Linked DNA regions of Homo sapiens: regions 2 and 3 are each linked to region 1. Evidence: promoter capture Hi-C in 16 types of primary human blood cells and fetal thymus (Javierre and others, 2016). All regions are on one chromosome and are shown on one strand. The core of a region is centred on a gene start or on the middle of the fragment in contact, and the rest is flanking DNA. Distances in the headings are between cores, read along the strand shown. Region 1 holds the start of ZNF81 (zinc finger protein 81). Region 2 has its middle 5.5 kb from the start of ZNF630. Region 3 has its middle 14 kb from the start of ZNF630-AS1.

The links. The method cuts DNA at HindIII sites, captures the fragments that hold promoters and counts their contacts. A CHiCAGO score of 5 or more calls a contact.
Region 2: a fragment that was not itself captured here is called in contact with the fragment with the promoter of ZNF81 in region 1 in 1 of 17 cell types (neutrophils); the score reaches 6.5 in neutrophils.
Region 3: a fragment that was not itself captured here is called in contact with the fragment with the promoter of ZNF81 in region 1 in 1 of 17 cell types (naive B cells); the score reaches 5.7 in naive B cells.

What each region holds. Positions count from the first base shown.
Region 1 is chrX:47,835,600-47,838,281 of GRCh38, reverse strand. ZNF81 (zinc finger protein 81) reads right to left here and starts at 1,380. Exons shown (of 5, transcript NM_007137.5): 1 at 1,295-1,380. RefSeq lists an enhancer at 1,253-1,632. The HindIII fragment of the contact is 3,931 bases long and covers 1-2,682 here.
Region 2 is chrX:48,075,841-48,078,522 of GRCh38, reverse strand. No RefSeq gene overlaps it. Among named protein-coding and RNA genes, the nearest start is that of ZNF630, 5.5 kb to the right of the region's middle. The HindIII fragment of the contact is 7,479 bases long and covers 1-2,682 here.
Region 3 is chrX:48,040,523-48,043,204 of GRCh38, reverse strand. No RefSeq gene overlaps it. Among named protein-coding and RNA genes, the nearest start is that of ZNF630-AS1, 14 kb to the left of the region's middle. The HindIII fragment of the contact is 2,055 bases long and covers 315-2,369 here.

The DNA of each region.
Region 1 (2,682 bases), core at 131-2,630:
AAGAAATAAAACTATCCCTGTTTGTATATGACATGATTGCTCATGCAGAAAATCCAAGGAATCTGCCAAAAAAGGTGTAAAACCTAATAATTGAGCTCAGCAAGATTGCAGGATACAAGACCAACAGACAAAACTCAATTGTATTCCTATATATAAGCAACAATTTAAAAGATAACACCATTTATGACCACTCCAAAACAATTAAATACTTAGGTATAAATTGAATAAGACATGTACAGAACTTGGGTGATGAAAATTAAAATACACCATTTATAGAAATTTTAAAAGATCTAAATAAATAGAGAGACATACTATGTATATGGATTGGAAGACTTGGCACAGTTAAGACTTAACTTCTTCCCGAGTTGGTATACAGGTTTAATGCAATTCCTATCAAAATCCAAGCAAGATGCTTTGTAGATAGAGACAAGATTTTCTAAAATGCATATAGGAAAGGCAAGGGAACCAGAGGCATTAAAACAATTTTGAAAAAGAATAAAGTGAGAGGAATCACTCTATCCAATTCAAGACAGCAAGGTAGTACTGGCAGAGGGATAGACACATAGACAATGAACTGAATAGCAAACCCAGAAAGAGCCCACACACAAGTATGGCCAACTTATTTTTGACAATGGTGAAAGACAAGTCAATGGAGGAAAGATAGTCTTTTCAACAAATGGTGCTTCAGTCTGGACATCCATAAGCAAATTAATGCACCTCGACCTAAGTCTCATACTTTATACAAAAAGTAACTCACAGAGGATCACAGACAGCAGTAAGGAGACACAGACAAATCACCATCACAGTGGAGAATTTCTCTCTCCTCGAAGTAATAGAAGAAGCAGACAAAAAAGGATAGATTTTCTATGACACAATTGACGACTAAATAATTAAATATTATTTTCAAGTTATATATAGAACGTTTCTAAAAATTCACCACGGACTAGGCCATAAGTCTCCTTATATTTCAAGGAATGAGCTTCACGTAGATATTTTTCTAACACAGAAAACTAAGGTTAGAGATCCATTACAGAGATAAACTTTTGCACACTGAAACCCCACTTTTGAATAACTCCCGGGTAAAAGACAAATGAATACAAGTTAACACTCTTAAAAAACATAATGCTCCAAACCCAATGGGGCTTAGAATGAACTTTAAGACCTTAACGGTGATGTTAGAAAAGAGAAAAGCCTGCAAAATGATGAGTGAATCATCCAACTCAAGTTAGATAAACGATTCCATCACTGGCCACACAGAATCGCCCAGCACTCACCCTCCCCGGCCCCCCATCACCTCCACATCCCTGGGCACTGAACGTCGAATCCTCCTGACAACTATCAAACCCCGGCTGAGAACCGGCGAGAACCGCAGCCGCTTCCGGTCACTACCCCTAGCACCGCCCTTTTTCGGGGTTTGGGACTTCACATGAATGAGGGAAGCGGAGGTTCCGCGCGTGCGCAAAACCACCTTTGAAGCTGCTGTTAGCCAGGAGTCAACATGGAGAAGTTACGGAAGTGGGTGCTTTGGGACGTTCGGTACCCCTCGGCGGCGTGGTCAGGTGGGGAACATGGCCGCGCCCACGTCGCGCTTCCCCATGGGATACACCATGTTGGAGGAGTGTCCATCCGTATTGAGGATGAGGACACCTCTGAACTCACAGAGCAGGCTGTGAGTTTAGAGCTGTCTGCTCTAAACTCAGGTGGAGCTGTCCCGCTGGTGGCAGGGAGCACGGGTGGGGACGTTTCTCTGGGCGGGCTAACTGGAGGAGGGGGTCTTTGGACCTGTAGTCTATGGATCTGTGTGATACCGCTCCGAGAAACTGAAGGGCCTCTTGGAAAGAATCAGGGGCGGCCGCGGCTATCTCCTGGCAGATACCACAGGATGAGAAGCGGGGAGATGTCAGGCTGGTTACAGGCTTCTCCTAGGACATACCACAAGGGGAGGAGGAGGAGGAGAAATCATGGTTATGCAAGCCCTCCTAGGATATGCCATGAGGTGGGAAAAAGGGAGAACTCAGAGTGCTGGGTTCCCCTCCTGCTGTGCCTGTGGGGCTTGGATGCGAGGTTTGAATGCTGCAGCAATTTACCTTATCTCCCACTCCATCTACCCCAGCTAAAAAGGGACTACGTAGTACCAATACTAATAATTTTTAATGTGTCCTTAGTCCAATGCAATATGTCAATAAAAATCTTTAGGAAACTTTATTATTTTTATTTCCTCATGAAGTAAAATATATGTGGTCATGGTGCCCTTACTTTGGAAATGTAGCTTTAATACAAGGCTCTGCTTCTACCCTTCAACCAGTTTGCTGCTCCATATCACCTCCAATGTGTAAATTCTGGAGATGCCCCTGCCCTCTGGGAGATGTCACTGGAGCAGAAGGGGAAGAAGTCGTGCAGTCCTTCACCTAAGAATGCCTATTCATCCTTCAAAATCAAGTTCAAATATCTCCTCCTCCAGAGAATCCTGACAGAGCTAGAAGCCTGTGTGCCCTCCTGAAAGCCTTTCTGAATCCTCAGGTGAAAAAAATATTTTGAGAGGACCTGGTGTAGGCTGAAGTGTGGACTTGCTGGGGGCTCTCAATCCAGTCTTATCCCCTCTGGCCCTCGGTTTAACAATCTCGAAGGTTAGAGGTGTCCTAGTCCAATTAGCCTCAAACTAATTTTTAGTCTGACAGATCC
Region 2 (2,682 bases), core at 79-2,578, 240 kb before region 1:
CACAGGACCACAGGACCAAGGTGAAATTAAAATTGCTAATGAAGATTCGGGCACCATAGTCATTGATAACATCTTATCAGGAGACAGGGTTTTGAGAGCAACCGGTCTGACCAAAATTATTAGGTGGGAATTTCCTCTTCCTAATAAGCCTGGGAGTGCTATGGGAGACTGGGGTTTATTTCACCCCTGCAGTCTTGACCATAAAAGACAGGTGCACCTGGGGGGGCCGTTCATAGGCCTATATCTCCAGGTGCGTATTCTCTTTCTCAGGGATGTTCCTTGCTGAGAAAAGGAATTCAGCCATATTTCTCCCATTTGCTTTTGAAAGAAGAGAAATATGGCTCTGTTCCATCCGGCTCACCGGCATTCAGAGTTTAAGGCTATCTCTCTTATTCCCCGAACAATTGCTGTTATCCTGTTCTTTTTTCAAGGTGCCCACATTTCATATTGCTCAAACATACATGCTGTACAATTTGTGCAGTTAACGCAATTATCATATTGTCCTGAGGCGACATACATCCTCCTCAGCTGACAGGATTAAGAGATTAAAGTAAAGACAGGCATAGGAAATCACAAGGGTATTGATTGAAGAAGTGATAAGTGTCCATGAAATATTTACAATTTATGTTTAGAGATTGCAGTAAAGACAGGCATAAGAAATTATAAAAGTATTAATTTGGGGAACTAATAAATGTCCATGAAATCTTCACAATTCACGTTCTTCTGCCATGGCTTCAGCCAGTCCCTCCGTTTGGGGTCCCTGACTTCCTGCAACAGACATTTATATTTAAATGATTCAGAAAAAATTATGTGTATATATATATATATAATATGCACCATATATATGTACATATATGTTATATATATGTAAAGAAAATAGGATAAAATAATCACATTTGGAGAATCTGGATGAAGGGTATATGAGAGTTCTTTGTACTATTTTTGCAACTTTTTCTGTAAGTTTGAAATTATTTCCAAATAAAGCATTAAAATAAATGCAGAGTATTGGACCTCATCCTTGACTTATTGGATCAGAAGCTCTGGGTCTAGAGTCCAGGAGTATGCATGAAAGGCATTACTTACTGCATCAGAAATTTTTGTAAAGATTATTTTATTTTTTATTATTATTATTTTTACATTTTTTGTAGAGATGGGATCTCACTAGGTTGCCCAGGCTGGTCTCCAATTCCTGGGCTCACGCTATCCTCCTGCCCTGGGCTCCCAAAGAGTTGGAATTATAGGCCTGAGCCACTGTGCTCTGCCTAAACATTTTATTTTTAAAAATTCCTGTGGACATGTCTAGAGAGAAGCATCAAAAAATTATTGAGAAGGGCTTTGATCATCATGAAAATTCTTAACTTCCAGGGGTCCTGTCATACATAGTTTCCCACATATTTGAGAGAAATCTTAAAGATGTACATAGCTACTGTATTAGTCTGCTTAGGTTGCCATAACAAAATACCATAGACTAGATGGCTTAAACAATAGAAATTTATTTTCTCACAGTTCTGGAGGCTGGAAAGTCCAAGATCAAGGTTCCAGAAAGGTTTGGTTTCTGGTGAAGCCTCTCTTTCTGGCTTGCCGATGGCTGCCTTCATGCTGTGTCATCACATGGCGGAGAGAGAATCTCTTGGGTCTCTTACACTTGTCTCCAATCAGGGTTCCACCTTCTGACATCATTAACCTTAATCATCTTCTTATAGGCCGTATCTCCCATGCAGTCATGTAGGGTGTTAGGTCTTCAACATACAAATTTTGAGGGAACACAATTCAGTGCACAGCAGCTACTGCATAACACTGATGAAGTCTAGACATGATTGTGGCTTTAGTTAGGGCTACACAGCAGATTATGTGTCCTCTCTTCTCCACACTGAATCTAGGCCTTGGGTCACATTTCTGCCATCTATGGCCTTCAGATCTGAGCCTTGATCTTGGTCCTGTGTTAACTCTTCCACTTTCACTGCCACTCAGGCCTGACCTTGCACCTGGTTCTCTGTTCAGTTTTCTCTCTTTCTTTCTTTCTTTTTTTTTTGAGATGGAGTTCCACTCTGTTGCCCAGGCTGGAGTGCAGTGGTGTGATCTCTGCTCACTGCAACCTCCCCCTCCCGGTTTCAAGTGATTCTTATGCCTCAGCCTCCTGAGTACCTAGGATTACAGGCATGTGCCACCACGCCTAGCTAATTTTTGTATTTTTAATAGAGATGGGGTTTCCCCATGTTGGCCAGGCTGGTCTCAAACTCCTGACCTCAAGTGATCTGCCTCAGCCTCCCAAAGTGTTGGGATTACAGGCGTGAGCCACTGTGCCTGGACTGTTCAGTTTTCTCTTTATGCCTACTTCTGTTAATGCTTCCACCCCTAATGCCCCACTTGTTGGGGCATCTCTGTTAACTATTTCATCATCAACTCATTTCTAGCATGAAAACCAAACCTGACTTCTTTTTATTTTTCCTCCATCAATGCCTCTTCTGATCTGTGAATTAAATCCAGGTTTCTTAACACCATTAGTTTTCCCACTCTGATTTATATATTAAACCTAGAGCTCAGTTATAGATTTTAGCATTAATGCTCCCATTTTTTGACATTGAATCTGGCTGGCTGTTAAATTTTTTTTTAGGGGTCTTGCTCTGTCACCCAGGCTGAAGTGCAGTATCACAATCATAGCCCACTGCAGCCTCGAAGTCC
Region 3 (2,682 bases), core at 93-2,592, 200 kb before region 1:
ACAGGAATGTGTTGTGCTAAAGTCTTCCAGCACAGTTTTACTTGATCCTCATGGGAATCCCACGTAAATGAGCCCTGGCTTCATTTTACAGATGGTGAAGGAGAGTCCCAGAGAGGGTAAAACTTTAGTTCATTGGAGATTGAGTTTTTCCATCAGTTTACTAAGCTTTATTGTTTGTTTGTTTTTGGTTTAGTTTTGTCTTTTACAGATGGGGTCTCACTATGTTGCTCAAGCTGGTCTTGAACTCCTGGTGCCTTGACCTCCCAAAGTGCTGGGATTACAGGCGTAAGCCACTATGTCCAGTTTAGCAAGCTTTAATTTTAATAGTCCGTTAGGTCTGTCTATCATTACAGGAGAGAGAGATGATAAAAATATTCTGTTTTAATATTTGGTCTTTGACCCCAGTTTCTGATACAAAGCTCTTAAGACCGTTGTAATTTCTTGTGTGATAGGAGTGTCTGACACAGAGCTTCTAAATCCCTTGGAATTTCCTGGGTGATAGAAGCATCTTTTGCTCTAATGAGGTGACCTCTTAATGTCCTCCTGGATAGCCTCAGGATGGGAGCTGGTTGCCAGGGGAATCAACCATGTGATTAGAAGGTTGGGACCTCCAGCCCCATCCCTCAACTCTGGGGCTGAAGGTTGAATTGATCATCAATGGCTAATGATGTAATCAATTACATCTAGGTAATGGAGCCTCTATAAAAACCCAAAAGGACAGGGCTTGGGGAGCTTCCAGATAGCTGGAAATGTGTGGGTTCTTGGAGGGTGGTGCTCTGGAGGCGGCATGGGAACTCCACACCCCTTCCCTCATGCCTTGCTCTATGCATCTTCGCTATCTGGCTGTTAATCTTCATCCTTCATTATATCCCTTATTAATAAACCAGTAAACATAAGTAAAGTGTTTGCCTGGGTTCTGTGAGCTGCTCTAGCAAATGAATTGAACCTCAGGGGGGTCGTGGGAATCCTGACTTACAGCCAGTTGGTAAGAAGTACAGGTCTCAATATGTGCTTGCAACTGGCATCTCAAATGGGAGACAGTCTTGTGAGACTGAGTCCTCAACTTGTGGGAGCTGACTCTGTCTCCAAGTAGATAGTCAGTAGTGGATTGAATTAGAGGACACCCAGCTCTTTATACCTGTGCTTTATGTTGACTTTTTCATATCCTTAGTTATTTAAGAGAATCAAGTTTTTTCACTTTTTAAAGAGCTATTTTTACAACCATGTTACCTCCTATATTTACTTTAAAATCACTTTAGTTAAATGGTAGCCAAGTATTGTTTATCAGTGACCCATGACCCTATTTAACCAAATTTTCAAGTATCCTAACAATTTTTGACATTTTGCCTTCCTCAAATCTAATCTTTTTTCTTTTTTCTTTTTGAGACAGAGTCTCAATCTGTCGCCCAGGCTGGAGTGCGGTGGCTCCATCTCCGGTCGCTGCAACCTCTGCCTCCCGGGTTCAAGCGATTTTCGTGCCTCAGCCTCCCGAGTAGCTGGAATTATAGGTGTGTGCCACCATGCCTGGCTAATTTTTGTATTTTTTAAGTAGAGACGGGGTTTCACCATGTTGGCCAGGCTGGTCTCAAACTCCTGACCTCAAGTGATCCGCTGGTCTCGGCCTCCCAAAGTGCTGGGGTTATAGGCATGAGCCACTGCGACCAGCTCCAAATCTAATATTAAATGGTATGTTTTATACCTAAACCTGCCTTTGAGATTTTCCAGAGGGTCCCAAGGAAATCACAAAATGATTTGTTCTTTCACTTTTTAAAAGGAGGTACTAAAATAATTAGATTTAGTTAATATTATATAAAGTGTATGGGAAGTGTTGTAAAAAAAATACTTAGCCTTCCCTAAATTAACAGGGCAAGTGTTTTGCACATGGACAATTCCATTAGCTCTTTTTAAGTGGCTGAGGGACCCATTTCACCAGTAAAGTAATCTAAGAAATCCAAGTCGTTCTTCCTGTATCACAAAAATATGTAGTCCTTATTATCTCTCCGGATCATCCCTTATCACCTATCTTTCCTGTAATAATAGACAGACCTAATGGACTATTAAAATTAAAACTTGCTAAAGTGGGTATGGTGGCTCACGCCTGTAATCCCAGCACTTTGGGAGGCCAAGGCAGGAGGATCACTTGAGGCCAGGAGTTCAAGACCAGCTTGGGCAACAAAGCAAGATCCCATCTCTACAAAAAAAACAATTAAAAATTAGCTGGGTGTGGTGGCACATGCCTATGGTCCCAGCTACTTGGGAGGCTGAGGTGGGAGGATTGCTTGAGCCCAGGAATTTGAGACCAGCCTGAGCAACATAGTGAGATCCTATCTGTAAAAAAAACAAAACCAAACCAAACAAACAATAAAGCTTGCTAAACTGATGGAAAAACTCAATACGCAATGGCCTAAAATTTTACCCTTAGCCCTGATTGCCTTCTGATCCTCTCCTGCCAGATCACACAAACTATACCCATATACAATAATAACTGGCAAGCCCCATGAGAATTCCCTATTCTATTTAGGCTTTCAAATATCCTAACCTGGTCAATTCAGACAATCTAAATTACTTCAAAATATTTATCAATTATACTCAAACTTACCTTCAATAGGTTGAGGCTGATTTTCCTCCAATTTTCCTATCCAAACCATTGTACAACCTAGAAATTGGAGACCTTGTTCTCTA